2 separate regions of the Homo sapiens genome follow, and region 1 is linked to region 2. Evidence: promoter capture Hi-C in human tissues and cell types (Jung and others, 2019). All regions are on one chromosome and are shown on one strand. The core of a region is centred on a gene start or on the middle of the fragment in contact, and the rest is flanking DNA. Distances in the headings are between cores, read along the strand shown. Region 1 overlaps LOC105377164 (a long non-coding RNA gene). Region 2 holds the start of PDZRN3 (PDZ domain containing ring finger 3).

Region 1 (6,669 bases), core at 2,041-4,540, 62 kb after region 2:
TTAACCATCACACTGGGTGTGTGATGGAAAGCAAATCAAGGGTTAGAGGAAAGAAATAATCTGATTTGCATTTCTAAAAGATCACTTTGCCTCCTGGGTGGAGGATTTTTTTCCAAGAGACAAGAGAGGAAGCCTGAGGATACTTAAGAGGCTAAGGCAGCTGTCAGTAAGAAATGATGGTGCTTTGGATGAGATTAGCAGTAATGAAGGATATGAGGGATGGTCTGATTTGGGATCAACTTTGAAGGGATCAACTGTGGAAGAATGTGCTGTTGGGTTGGATGTGAATGTCAGGGAAAGGGAAGAGCCAAAGATGCACGACTTCCAAGATTTTTGGCCTGAACAAATAGGTCAATAATGGTATTCTTTACTAAGGTGGGGGAGACTGGCAGCAACTGAGTGCAGATAATAACATCAAAAATTCTATTTGAGATGCCTATTAAGCAGGCACCTGGATATAGAAGTTTGAAGTTTAAAGGAGTCTTTCGACCTCGGTGTATTGAACTTGGGAGTCATTAGCATAGAGGTGGTATTCCAGATTTCATAATATACCTTAATATTGATCAACTCAAGCATTAAGTTTCACATGAGTCCCTTCCTCATATAGTCAATCATTGAATATTAAACTTTGCTGTGATTTTCTTTTTTTTTTCTTTTTTGAGACGGAGTTTCACTCTTGTTGCCCAGGCTGGAGTGCAATGGCGCAATCTCGGCTCACTGCAATCTCCACCTCCCGAGTTCAAGCTATTCTCTTGTCTCAGCCGCTGGAGTAGCTGGGATTACAGGCGCCCGCCACCACGCCTGGCTAATTTTGTATTTTTAGTTAGAGATGGGGTTTCTCCATGCTGGTCAGGCTGGTCTCGAACTCCCGACTTCAGGTGTCCTGCAAAATCATCTGGAGGAGTTTATTAAAAATATAATTGCCCAAAGCTGTATTTATCAGAAAAGTCAAGCTGCTTTTCATGGCTTTTATCTGTTAGTTTTTGTTTTGCATAATAAAGGTACACATAGGCGTACTTTTCCACGCCCTTCCTTGGGAGCCCTTCCAACATTTGAGCACTCATAATAATCATGGCTGTCAACCTCTGAACACACTTCATACTCCAGCCCTTAATCCCCAAAACAATAGGAGGATTCAGGGGTGCAGACAGCTGCAAGGGATCTAGTTACCAACACCAGGAAGCAGAAAGCAATGATGATGGTGTGGTCTTTACGTTGCTAATTGGAGAGTGTGCTGTCTGTATCTAAGGTGTTTCAGGAAGTCTGCTGAACCCAATGAATGTGTTCCCCTTTTATGAGAAATGTGCACTCTAGTGCTAAGTGCTTGGAAGTACTGCGGAGGACACTGCAGGAAAGGGTGGAGGTAGACATGAAGAACAATTTCAATCTTTCAGTTGTAATTGTGACTTAGGCTTAAAGCTGTGGCTTGGGAAGGCTCAGGACTCTGTTGCTTATAAAGGGCAAAACCCATACAAAACTGGCTTAAGCAAAAAGGGGAATTTACTGGATCATGTAGCAGAAAAGTTAAGCAATTAATTTCAAACAAGAATGGATCCAAGTGCTAAAATAAAGTTGTCATGAATATGTCTCTATTTTTTGAGACATGGATTGAGAAGCGGGCGAGGGTTATTCTGCAAATGCAAATTAAGTTTCTGTTACCAGAAATAAGGGGAAGGGATGATGGAGAGGCAAAAACAACAAATGTCCACTGTAGCAGGATAAGAAAGAAAGGAAAATGGGGACTTGATTTACACATGATTTGAAAGGTGAGATTTGTGTTTTTCAATGATATTTTAAAAACAAACAAATAAACAAAACAGGGCAATGGGCTCTCAGCAGAAAGGGTAAATGTGACCATGACTCGGACTTAGAAAGTTCTCTTTGTGACTTGGGGAGGAGAGGTCAGTATGGCAAAGGGTATGGCCTGACCTCTAGGGCTTTCTGGTCCTGTTTTATCATGCACAGCAGATTAAAAAGTTGGAAGAGGACTTGGGTTTCAGCATATATCTGATAAATGTTTAAGCCTCTAATCCTGTCATTTTTGCAAAGATGGTATTGACAGCTTGGTGCAGTAGAAAGGGAATGCGTCTCATAGCTCAATACGGTTTCAAGCCACAGTTCAGACTCTTAGTCATGTGACTTAGGAAATCTACTTTACCTGTCTAAGCCTCAGGCTTCTCATCTGCAAAATGGAGGAGCTAATGGAGTCTACTTCTGAGGGCTATGATAAGAGAAAACAAAAACCTTCATGAACTGTGCCTAGCACAGTACCTGGCATGTAGTAATCACTCAATAAAGGTAATGAAGCTACCTCTTCCTTCTCATCCTTATGATTACTGCTCTTCTTTTGGCTAAACTGAATTCATAGTGCATGATACAGTGCACACAAGCCTGACTCAAGGCATTTTATTATCTGCTTAGGCTCAAAATAATTATGTTTGTCGAGACATAACCATTTATAAACCCAAAGTCAATGGCTTAGCTTTGGGTGCCCAAAGACTTGGCTGTTTTACTTTGAACCAGGTAGTTGCATTAGTTAACCTGAGCCTCACTTGCCCCATCTAATAATCTTCATAAGGTTGTGAGGCTAGCATGAATAATTCATGTATTGGGTTTAACATAGTACCTGGACCTTATACAATTTCAATACAAAATAATAACAGTAATCATATTTATTATTATTATTCTCTAGCAATTTCTGCAAGGCCAACCTTGGGTCTTGTGTAAAGAAGGGTTCTGATGGAAAGGCAGAGTTGTCTCTTGAGGACAAAGCAGTTGTCACATGATAAGCCTTCTCCACCGTATGGGTCACCTTTCTCATCTTTGTTAGTTGGTTGGAATCTGACATCAGAATCCAGTTGCCTGTTGGGTTCCTTTTGAGGTGGGGACGTTGACTCCATTCCACCAATGATTTATTTGAAAATGCCTGGAAGTGGAGGGACACAAAATGTTCTGAAAAGTCAACGTGTGCATCTTGTCCCAGAGTGATTCCGTGACTGTTCGCTTGGTGTTTACATGGCTTAAACTGTCTAATTTATAGACTCTGAAAGCACCGGTGAAAGAAACAAACTAGCTTTTGGATCACTTAATATAGTTTATAGTGCAACTGTAAATTTGGAACCATTTATGGAACATTACGACTTGCAAACATCTCCCCCAGTTTTATTACTCAGGGAAAAAAAATGTGTGGTGCTTACAAATCCTCTAAAAACTGTAAAAGCATTAAAAAAAAAAAAATCCAAACAGCATTCATGGACTACATAGTGCAGGATGCAAGCTTTTATCTTGAGCAGTATATTGAAAGCCTAATTTTCTACTAAAATGTCAGCTTGTTTCAAAACACAGGAGATGACTGGCTTGGAATCCTTGCTGAAAAGAACTCGTCTTTGCTCTTTCTTCTTCCAAAAAAAGAAAAAAAAAAAAAAAAAAAAGAAATGCACTATGCTTAAGGAGGAATTTAGCAATTAGATGATTGCTATAAAATAGCAGTTGACATCTGCCCTATATATATTTTTTCTTAGCATCAAAGATGTTTAATTTGAATAAAAGCTTTCTCCTCCACAATCTGACATTTTCCCTGAGTTTTATCTTACTCTAGAGTCATTATCTTACAATTAGGTCTGAACTTAGGGGTAAAACAACAACAACAAAAACCAGGAACTCCAACACAGGGATCTTACTTGGGCTGCAGTTTTCTGATGTTATCTGAGTTGAGCTGCTTTTTATCATCCTGGCGTTTAAAGGGAAAAGTCTCTGTTCTGCCTCCTGTCCAACTACCCCCAGCCCAGACCTTATTCTTTTCACTTGAACCTGTGGAGTACGCCCAGACCTCTGGATGTCAGAACAAGATACTGCTATCATACAAATGAATGTGGAGGTCATGCATTTATCTTTGTCTCTGTCTCCCCTGCAGCATCCAGAGAAAGGCAAATTATGGATGAGGTGATTTAATCCAAGCAAAGTTTGAATGGAGATAAATGGGGTAGGGGGCAAATAGGAACAGAGCGAGGCTAGGGAGAGTCTTTGGGGAGAAGATTCTGTTCTTTTGAGTCCTATAACTGGCACCATGGAAGGGACCCTAGAGACAATCTAATGAGGCTCCATCATGGTGCAGAAGCAGTGCAGCATGGGATATTTGAAAGGGCAAATTCCTTCCATATTGTTCTTACACTAGAAGTTAAGGGCGCAGGGGGCATAGGTTAGGTGTGTGGGGTCTGGGGTCAGACCGTTTGCTTTGAGTCTTGTTTGTGTTGCTTTTTGGTTGTGTGTGGGCAAGAAATGTAACTTCTTTCAGCCGGAGTGCACCAGCTGCCAAATGGGGAAGAACAGTAGTTCCCACCTCATGTAGTATTGAGTGCATGACTTGGAGTAATGGGTGGGAGAGCACTTCCTGCCTTCCTTCCCTCATTCATCCCCTTACTTAACAAATAATTATTGAATATTTATGATGTGTCTAACCTCTTCTGGGCACCGGGGTTATAGTGATAAACAAGATAGTTGGGGTTCCTGATCTCATGACTTTTGTTAAAATTTTAACTACCATTATTATAATAAATGAAGAAGACTGAAATTCCAAGAAGCTGAGTCATGCAGCTATGCAGCTATATTAATAAAAGGGCTCAAATAGAGCGGGGTCTTGAGTCTCCAGTCCCATGCTTACTCCTCCACCCCCCACCAACACGATGTTGTGCTCTACTTTATTACCCTCAATTTTCTTGGTAAAGAAAGGTGTTTTTTTTTTTTAAAACAAAAACAAAAACAAAACTTTATTTTTAAAGCAGTTTTAGATTTATAAAAAATTTTTGAAGCTAGCACAGATAAATTCCATATACCTCACACTTGGTTTCCCCATTATTAAAATCTTATGTTAGTATTGGTACATTTGATTCAATTAATGAACCAATATTAATGCATTATTATTTTACTAAAGTTTATACTTTACATACTTTATTCAGATTTCCTTAGTTTTTTTTTTTTTCCTCCAGTGTTCTTTTTCTGATCCAGGATCCTATCCAGCATGCGACATTGAACATCGTTTTCTATGCTCATTTGCCATGTGTGTCCTATTTGCCCTTACACCTTCTTTTGTGTGATGTCTGTTCAGACTCTTTGAGCTTTCTAAAATGGGTTTCTTGGTTCCTTACTGTTGAGTTTTAAAGTTTTTTATATATTTCAGATACAAGTCCTTTTATTTTAAATACAAGTCCTTTTAAATGTGTTTTGCAAATATTTTCTCCCAGTCTCTTACTTGTCTTTTAATTTTTCTTAATAATGTTCCTCACAGAGCAGAAATGTTTAATTTTTATAAAATCTAACATCAAATTTCATTCATGGATTATGCTTTTGGTGTTAGGCTCAAAAACTCATTGCCAAATCATGGTTACTAGATTTTTCCCTACATTTTTATCTAGAAACTATATATTTTTGCATTTTACATTTAGTCTAAAATCCAGTTTTTTATGAAAGGCATAACATCTCCCTCTAGATTCATTTTTTTTTTTCAATGTAGATGTTCAGATGTTACAGGACTATTTGTTGACAAAACTAACTTTTGTCCATTGAAATGCCCCTACTCCTGGCCAGACTGGGTGGCTCTCACCTGTAATCCCAGCACTTTGGGAGGCTGAGGTGGGCAGATTACTTGAAATCAGGTGTTTGAGACCAGAACATGGTGAAACCCTGTCTCTACTAAAAATAGAAAAATTAGCTGGGCATGGTGGCACACACCTGTAATTCCAGCTACTTGGGAGGCTGAAGCAGGGGAATTGGTTGAGTCGGTGAGGTGGAAGTTGTAGTGAGCTGAGATCAGGCCACTGAACTCCAGCCTCTGTCTCAAAAAAAAAAAAAAAAAAAAAAAAGCTGCTGCTTCTTTGTCAAGGGTCTGTTGCCTACATTTGCATGAGTCTATTTCTGGGCTCTCTATTCTGTTCCATTGATCTATGTGTCTATAGTTTCCTCAATACCACGCTGTTTATAAATCTTAAAATTTGGTAGTATGAGTCTTACAACTTTTTCTTTTTTTTCTTTGTGTTTTTTTTTTTTTCATTTTGTTTTTGTTCTTACTCCTTACTATTGTATTGGATAATCTAGGCCTTTTGCCTTAGTGTGTATGTGTGTGTGTGTATTACATGCATTCTAATATATACATATTAGAATGTGCATTTTATGTATGTATGAATCAGTTTGTCAATATCACCAAAATAGCTTGCTGGGCTCTTGGTTGGGGTTTTGTTGAATTCTGAATTCTAGATCAAATTGGGATAAATAGAATTTTCCAATCCATGAATACAGAATATTTCTCTATTTATTTACATGTTCTATTATTTTTTATATCAGAGTTTTGTTCTTTTTCACATATAGATCTTTTACATTTTAAAATATTTATATCTATGCTTTTTTTTGATACTACCGTAAATGGCAATCAAAAAAATCAAATTTCAATGGTTCATTGCTGGTATATAGAAAAACAGTCGACTGGCCGGGCATGGTGGCTCACACCTATAATCCCAGCACTTTGGGAGGCTGAGGCAGGCCGATCACGTGGTCAGGAGATCGAGACCATGCTGGGTAACATGGTGAAACCCCGTCTCTACTAAAAAAATACAAAAAATTAGCTGGGCGTGGTGGCAGGTGACTGTAGTCCCAGCTACTTGGGAGGCTGAGGCAGGA
Region 2 (7,022 bases), core at 1,534-4,033:
GCTCACACCAGTCTTTTGTGTGCCTGTGAGGTCCTGGGCAAGCTGTGGAGCTGTAAATATTTGCCCTTCGCCCAGAGCTGGCCAGCTGCTGAGACTGCAGCTGACAGACAGGCCAGGGGCCAGGAAGGGGGGCCAGGTCGGAAAACTTGCAGGCCTGGTGTGCACGTAAGGAAAGGGGGCTGGGAGAGGGCAGAGAGAGGCAAAGCAGACACAGGCCCTTGGGGGAGCCTCGGGCAAATATTTTCCCCTTTCTGCCACACCATCTGGAGCAGGCAACCAGAGCGGTGGCAGCAGGCCCAGGCCCCTCCCCAGGAAGGCAGAAGTACCCAGCTGTTGAAAATGTGGCTTCTGCAATCAGGGAAACCAGTGGTTCTCAACCTGGGCGACTTTGCCCCTCCAGAGGACACTTGACAATATTTGGATTGTCACGACTTGGGAGGGAGGCCAAGAATGCTGCTAAACATCCTACAATGCACAGCACAGTACCTCCCCTCCCAACTAAGAGTTATGGGGCCCAAAATGCCAATATGCCCCAAAACTGAGAACTCTGAGGTAGAATCTGAGTCCGGCTCTGCTCCCTGAGTCACTACTTAATTTTGGACAAGTTATATAACTTCTCTGAGTCTGTTCCCTCATCTCAAAGGACAACATAGGTAATGCATGTAAAGTACTTCCTATTGTTGGTGGCACTTAATAAACACTCAATAAATGGTCCTTGTGGTTGCACTGAGGAGCAACATGATAGTTTATAGAACGTGGGCTGGAAAGATGGGCACGCAAAGGTTCAACATGCAGCTTTGCACCCAAAAGCTGTGACCCAGGCATGAAACTGCCCCTTAATGAGCCTCAGTTTTTTCATCTACTAAGTGGGAAGGGTCACACCAACCTCACTTGATTAAAAAGGAAATGACTGGGAAGAATGCAGCACCCAGCCTGGAGCAAAGTAAACCCTCGCTCAAGGGGACCGCTCAGGTGGAGATGTTAAAAATAATTCTAGGTAACACTTGTTGAGCATTTATTTACTCTCTGCCAGGCACAGTACGAGGCCCTTCTACTAAACTCTCTCCCTGAAGCCTGACAAAAACCTTTCGCACTGAGGGAAACTGAGGGATCTGGGAATTAAGCCAGAAGCTCACCCAGCTGGTCAGCAAAAAGCCCAGATTTGAAAACAGTTTTAACTCCAGAGGACTCACACTTAATTATTACTTTATACTTGTTGGGGGCAGAGTGCTCCTTTAATTCTTTCTGAAATCCCTGGATGAATACCTCAGGGGTGCCTGGCTGTGTTTTTACTCTGTATACCACGTCTCTAGGGACCATAGTTTCCAACTTTAGAGAGGTTAAGCAGCTTGCTCAAGGTCAGCCAGCTAGTTGGCTGCAAAGCCCACGCTTGCATCCAGCTTTTACCCCAGAGGCCTCTCTTCTGATATCCTTCTTAACTTAATCTACACTGGCTGTGGGTTCCCTTTATTTTTTTTTCTGGAATCCTAGAGGATGCACGGATACAATTCACCCAATGTGTCCATCTCTCCTCTCCTAAGTGTCAGTCTATAGGTTTCTGACCTCTAGAGGGTAAGCAACTTGCCCGAGATCCCCTAGCTGGTCTGAGCAGCAAAGCCTTTGAACGCAGTTTTGACTCTGGAGCTGCATTCTTCATTCTTATCCTACACTTGCTTGTGAATTCTTTTTCGTCCTTCCAGAATCCCTGAAGCTGTACAGCTATACTTTACCGGTTACGTCTAGACTATAAAGGACCACAGTGTTCCACCTCAGGCAGGTTCAGCGACCTGCAAGTAGTGATACAGCTGGTAAGCAGTGGAAGAAGAGGGAGGAAGCAAGGATGTTCCCGGGAAGCTCGGGGCATCCCTGTACCCAAAGGGATGGGGCGGGGCCCTGGGTCCCCAGGGATCCTGGCTGGAGGTCGGGGCGGGCAGCAGGCGCCTACCTTGCCGCCGGGCGGCGCGGCCACGCAGCGGCTGAGCGAGTCGAGGCGCGCGCTGTATTCGGTGAATTTCTTCTGGTAGCGCAGCGCGGTCATCTGCAGCTCAAGCTGCGCCGCGGCCAGCTGGGCCACCAGCGACTTCTCGCGCTTCCCAGCGCGCAGCGCCTCCTTCTTGAGCGCCTTGTGCAGCGCGCCCAGGCGGGCCTGGAGCGCGCCGTTGTGCGCCCGCAGCGCTCGCGCGCAGCAGTGGCCGCCCGCGCGCTGCTCGCCGTGCGTCAAGGGTAGCCCGCAGCCCTCCTGGCAGCGGCCCACTGGCCGCGCGTCGCAGGCGTCGCGCATGTGCGCCTCCACGTCGCGCCGCAGCAGCACCTGGCCGCAACCCGCGTGGCGACAGCGCGCGGGCGCGAAGTCGCAGCGCTCGAGGTGCTCCGGCAGCTGCTGCAGCTTGACCACCCGGCCGCAGCCGCGCGTCGCGTACGCGCACTTGATGTCCAGCTTGAGGATAAGGCGCTTGAGCGGCAGGACGTGGTTGAGCTCTTTGGCCGACAGGCGACCGCGGCAGCGCGCCGGGCAGCTGCCCTCCTGCACCACCCAGGGCAGCACGCAGCCGGCGCAGAAGACGTGGCCGCACGGCGTGGTCAGCGGGTCCTCCAGGACCTTGTGGCACAGCGCGCACTTCAGGTCCGGGTCCACGTCGCCGTCGAAGCGGTCCAGCTCGAAGCCCATGGTGGCGGCCAGGCCCCGGGGTCGCCGCCGGGCGGCCGGGCGCCCCCTCCCTCCCCACGAGGCGGCCCAGACAGGCCGGCTACGCCGCCCGCGCGCTCGCTGGCTCTCCCCGGACTGAGCCTAATTGATCCAGACTTCCTCGGAAAATGCCCGAGGAACAGGACTCCTCCGGCCGTATTTGCGCGAGCGCGAGCGCACATACATCGTGCCTTGGATGCCTCCCGCCAGCCCCCCGAAAAAGGGAGGAGGCTGGAAGGCAGAAGCGCGTGGGAGGACACTGAGGCTCGCCAGAAGGGACGGGCCAGCCCAGGACGCCAGCCTGAATCTTCTCGGGAAACTCCTTTCTGTTCTCTTACAGTCTACGCTATAGGAGACAAAACGCCAGCCGAGAAAAGCTCGCTGAGTTTGGAGCTGAGGCTACTGCTTTCTCCCAAGGGTTCTCTTCGAGCCCCTTCCCGAACGGATCAAAACTTTTTTACTCCCTTCTCCCTCCCCCTTCCTCTAGTGGCTGATTGCAGAGGACTAAAAATATCTTGGGGCCCGCTATCTCAGCACTTACGGTCTTTATTTATTTATTTCATTCCAGGGAAAGTTACAGAGCCTGCGGGAAGCTCCGGCTGCAACTTCAGTTCTGACCAGAGGTTCTGTGAACCTTCAGGATTTAGCAGGTTTCCAGGACCGGTGGGTGAATCTACCCGGGGAAGTTTTGGTGGACAAGAGCTGCTCGCCAGCTGTCGGAGTGGGAGAGGCCAGCGTGCTGGCTCCATCCACTTCACCTAACACCTCTGAAGTGTCTGCCCTGCAGTGTGGCAAGCGTGGTGCTGAGCGCTTCTAAATCCGTCGCTTTAAAGATCATTAGTACAATGTTGTGAGAGGGTTAGCTCCATTTGAAAATTATTTTCCCGTGATTACAAAAGAAGCGATGCTGACTGCAGAAGTTAGAACTGGGAGAAGACTCATCACCCCCATGATCATGTCAACAACTGCCCTCCTTCAGTTTTGGTTTGTTTTGTGTGTACACTCTGTCATCTTTCCATTGAGGAAACTCAGGCTAGAAGAAGGATAAAAACAAAACAGAAAACAAAACAAAACAAAAGTGCCCTGTAGGGTCCTGTAGGTCAGTGTTTCTCACATTTTAATGTGGTTGCGGTTCTGATACAGTGGGTCTGGGGCGGGTTCTGAGAATCTCCATACTGAAAGCACTTCCAAGTGATGCCAATGCTGCTAGTCCATGCTGGTCCTTGGATTCCCACTTGATTGGAAAACCCTGGCGATCCATAGATCTGGACATTCATTCCCTGCAGTACAGCAAACCTGGCTGGGTAGGATTCAGCAACAGTCCTGAGCAATGGAGGAATATTTTTGGAATTCCAAACTGGGTGTAAAGTTCATAGCATCATCCATTGATTTTATTTTATTTTATTTTTACCTCCCAAGGCTATAGACATTCCTAAGAAACACGCAGTCAGCTTTTGGTGAGAGTGGAATCAAGCTATGGAATTCTCATTTGGAATCTGCTTCCAGTTTCTGAACAGTGAAGCGGGAGAGTTCTGAACAGTAAAGCAGGAGCTCTGTATTCAGCGAGACTCTGGGGCCTGGAAAGTGGGATTACAGCATCCATTTTGTCTAATTGCTTTCCTTCTTTCTTTTATGTGGCTGCTAAAGCCCCATGACCTTCACTATTTAACTGCTTCATCAGAGTGAAAGAATTGCCTTGATGTTCATAAGGATTACTTGTTTCACACTGACCTTTAAAAAGTTGTCACTCACTAGATTTTTCAGTGCATGGTTGAGGTCACTGGACAGTGTTCTTTAATCAGTTTTGGTGGCATTTGTTGCCTATTTGAGGTGGAGACTTTCTTTTAATTGCTTTAATCAATTAATGCATTGCTTTGATAGGATTCTGCATGGGGTGGAATATTATTGGCCTTTGTTCAGATAAGCTTGTGCCAGGGAATCCTCCATCAGTATATTCATTAAACTGCTCATGGGCTCTCAGATAATGGGTAGGAAACAAATTCTTTCACCAAAGGTGTGTGGGCTTGTCAGTTTCACAGAATGAGCTAGTGTCAACAGGGTGATAATCTTCAAACCAAACTGGTTTTGAGAAACAGAGAAGTTCTGTCCTACACCATAAATGTAAATTAGTGCTTACTTGGGGTGTACACTTTTTTGGAGATGTTCTACCACCCCTCGGGTGGTCTCCCAGATGGCAGATTGAGAGGTTGTTGCTGAAATGCTACAGCTGAGGCCACAGAGAAGCCATAGCCTACTGTGGATTGGCCTCTTTAGGCAAAAGGAAAGTCTGTGCCACTCCTCAATGGTTAATTTTAGTATCAAAATTCTTGGAGGTTAGAAAAAAAATCCTACAATGTCAGAGCTGGCAAGACTATTATTTCAGTCACCAAACTTAACAGGAGAAACGAGAGCCAAAAATATTAGGAAAAAGGAGTTGAGGGCAGAGTTACTCAACCTTGGTACTACTGACATTTTCATTCAAATAATTATTTGTTGTGGTGTGTGTGGGGGTGGGGGGTTGGTTATCGTCTGCATTGCAGGATATTTAGGAGCATCTCTGGCCACTATCCAATAGACATAGTAACAACCCCTTGTTGTGACAACCAGGTTGAGAACCACAGTTTTAAGGAAGCTTTCTGCTCATTACTGAAGTCAGGCAATGCTGTCAGCCCACATTTTCTGCTGGCTGTGGAACCACCTGGTGAATGCTGCACAGTGAGAGAGGGATGTTATTATAAATCGAAAACTCAAGGCACCATACCAATAAACATGAATAAAAACTGTAGGAAGATGAATGTTTGGTGTGGCAGGCCTCCTGAGAAAAGTAGCTGATTTTTCTGACATGGATTAGATACTTACTCAACCGTCCCAGAAACATCTGAGTGTTTATATATGGATGAATTCCTTGTGGACAGCTGGATTGGTCACTTTGCAAATTATTTTTGCGACTTCCACTACCTCTTGCTCTTACCCCTTCCTTTTATCATCTGATTCTGCACTTTCTAACCAAAATGTGGCCCCAAGCCTAATAAAAATACTATTTCTATATTCACCACGATCCCATTCTGATTTTAAACTCTGTTTTTAGTGTTCTTTCCATCAGCATGTTTAATCAGAAGTTGATAATAATATCTACCACTTTTTTGGGAACTGTTACTAGGTATCAGGCACTGTGCTCAGCACTTGACCTTCATTGTCTCATTAATCCTCACTGCACATAGAGAGGTAGATATGTTGTCCACCCTGTTTTACAGATGGAGAGACTGAGGTTTATAGAGGTTACATAAGATATCTAAGTAGGCGTAGGTACCTTATAAGGTTACATAAGGTATGCCTCCAGTCAGGGATGTCAACAGGAGAATTTCAGAACCCTCACTCTTAATCACCATAAGCATTATGCGTCTCCTCCATAAGCTCCAGCTCAGGAGGCACTCCCTTACAAATGATATGGATAAGAACTCCACCCCTCCATGTTTGCTGGTTATCAATCCTCAGCTGCTCGTAGGGTCTGGATAATTTGTGGCTTCAGTACTAGAAAAAACAAACAAAAAGAAAGTCAAGGGTTTTTACATTTGTTTTTTAAATTTTCTTCCCCAGGCGTACATATTTGTATTCTACTAGCTAAAATAGCACTATACAATTAGATAAGGATCTGCTTTTACCAAATGAAAGTACCACCAGAGCGTAATAAGGTACAGCAGTCATCCACAAAAACAAGTGTGAAACATTTCGGTCAGACTGCTTGCCTGTTAACATAGCCAATGTTAGCCATCCTGGAGCCTGACACATTCGTTTGGCCATGGGTTGAAAGGTAGGGAGAAGAGAAGGTAGTTCTCTATTCTGGAGACTTTTGAAGACTTTGGTAAGTCAGGATGAGTTATCACAGTAGGGACACTAGGCAGAAGAACAAGAATTGCGAAAATACTTCTTACAAATTTGAGCAAATTCTGGTCTGCAAAAGTCTGGCTCTCCTTTCCCAACTCTCCAGATGGGATTAGTTTCCACAGCCCCAAGCACATACCCTTGTATAACAATGATCACACTTGAAATGTCTTAATTTATCTAATAATTATTTAGTAGCTATTATATGCAAAGAAGAGGCTGTTCTTGCACTGGGGCTACAAAGGCTACCAAAAATAATAAGCAGTGTCCCTCCCCTCTTAAGCCTTCATTTCACGATAAGGAACAGCAGATATCAATAAATGAATAATAAATGAGATGATTATGGAATATGATAAGTTCCCTAATACAGTGCTGCTCAAAGTGTGGTCTGGGGACCAGAAACATGGGCATAACCTGGAAGCATGTTGAAAGTGCAGAATCTCAGGCCGCACCT

Evidence for each region. Contacts are between HindIII fragments. The study calls those that stand out against the background at their distance.
Region 1: a contact is called between a fragment that was not itself captured here and the fragment with the promoter of PDZRN3 in region 2, in 1 of the 25 tissues and cell types used here (IMR-90 fibroblasts).

Annotation. Positions count from the first base shown.
Region 1 is chr3:73,684,081-73,690,749 of GRCh38, forward strand. All of the region lies in intron 2 of LOC105377164 (a long non-coding RNA gene), which reads right to left. Among named protein-coding and RNA genes, the nearest start is that of PDZRN3, 62 kb to the left of the region's middle. The HindIII fragment of the contact is 4,900 bases long and covers 841-5,740 here.
Region 2 is chr3:73,622,158-73,629,179 of GRCh38, forward strand. PDZRN3 (PDZ domain containing ring finger 3) reads right to left here and starts at 2,784. Exons shown (of 10, transcript NM_015009.3): 1 at 1,946-2,784. The coding sequence starts at 2,668. PDZRN3-AS1 (PDZRN3 antisense RNA 1) reads left to right here and starts at 1,411. Exons shown (of 2, transcript NR_046681.1): 1 at 1,411-1,808; 2 at 3,255-5,742. RefSeq lists an enhancer at 203-717. The HindIII fragment of the contact is 5,146 bases long and covers 1-4,964 here.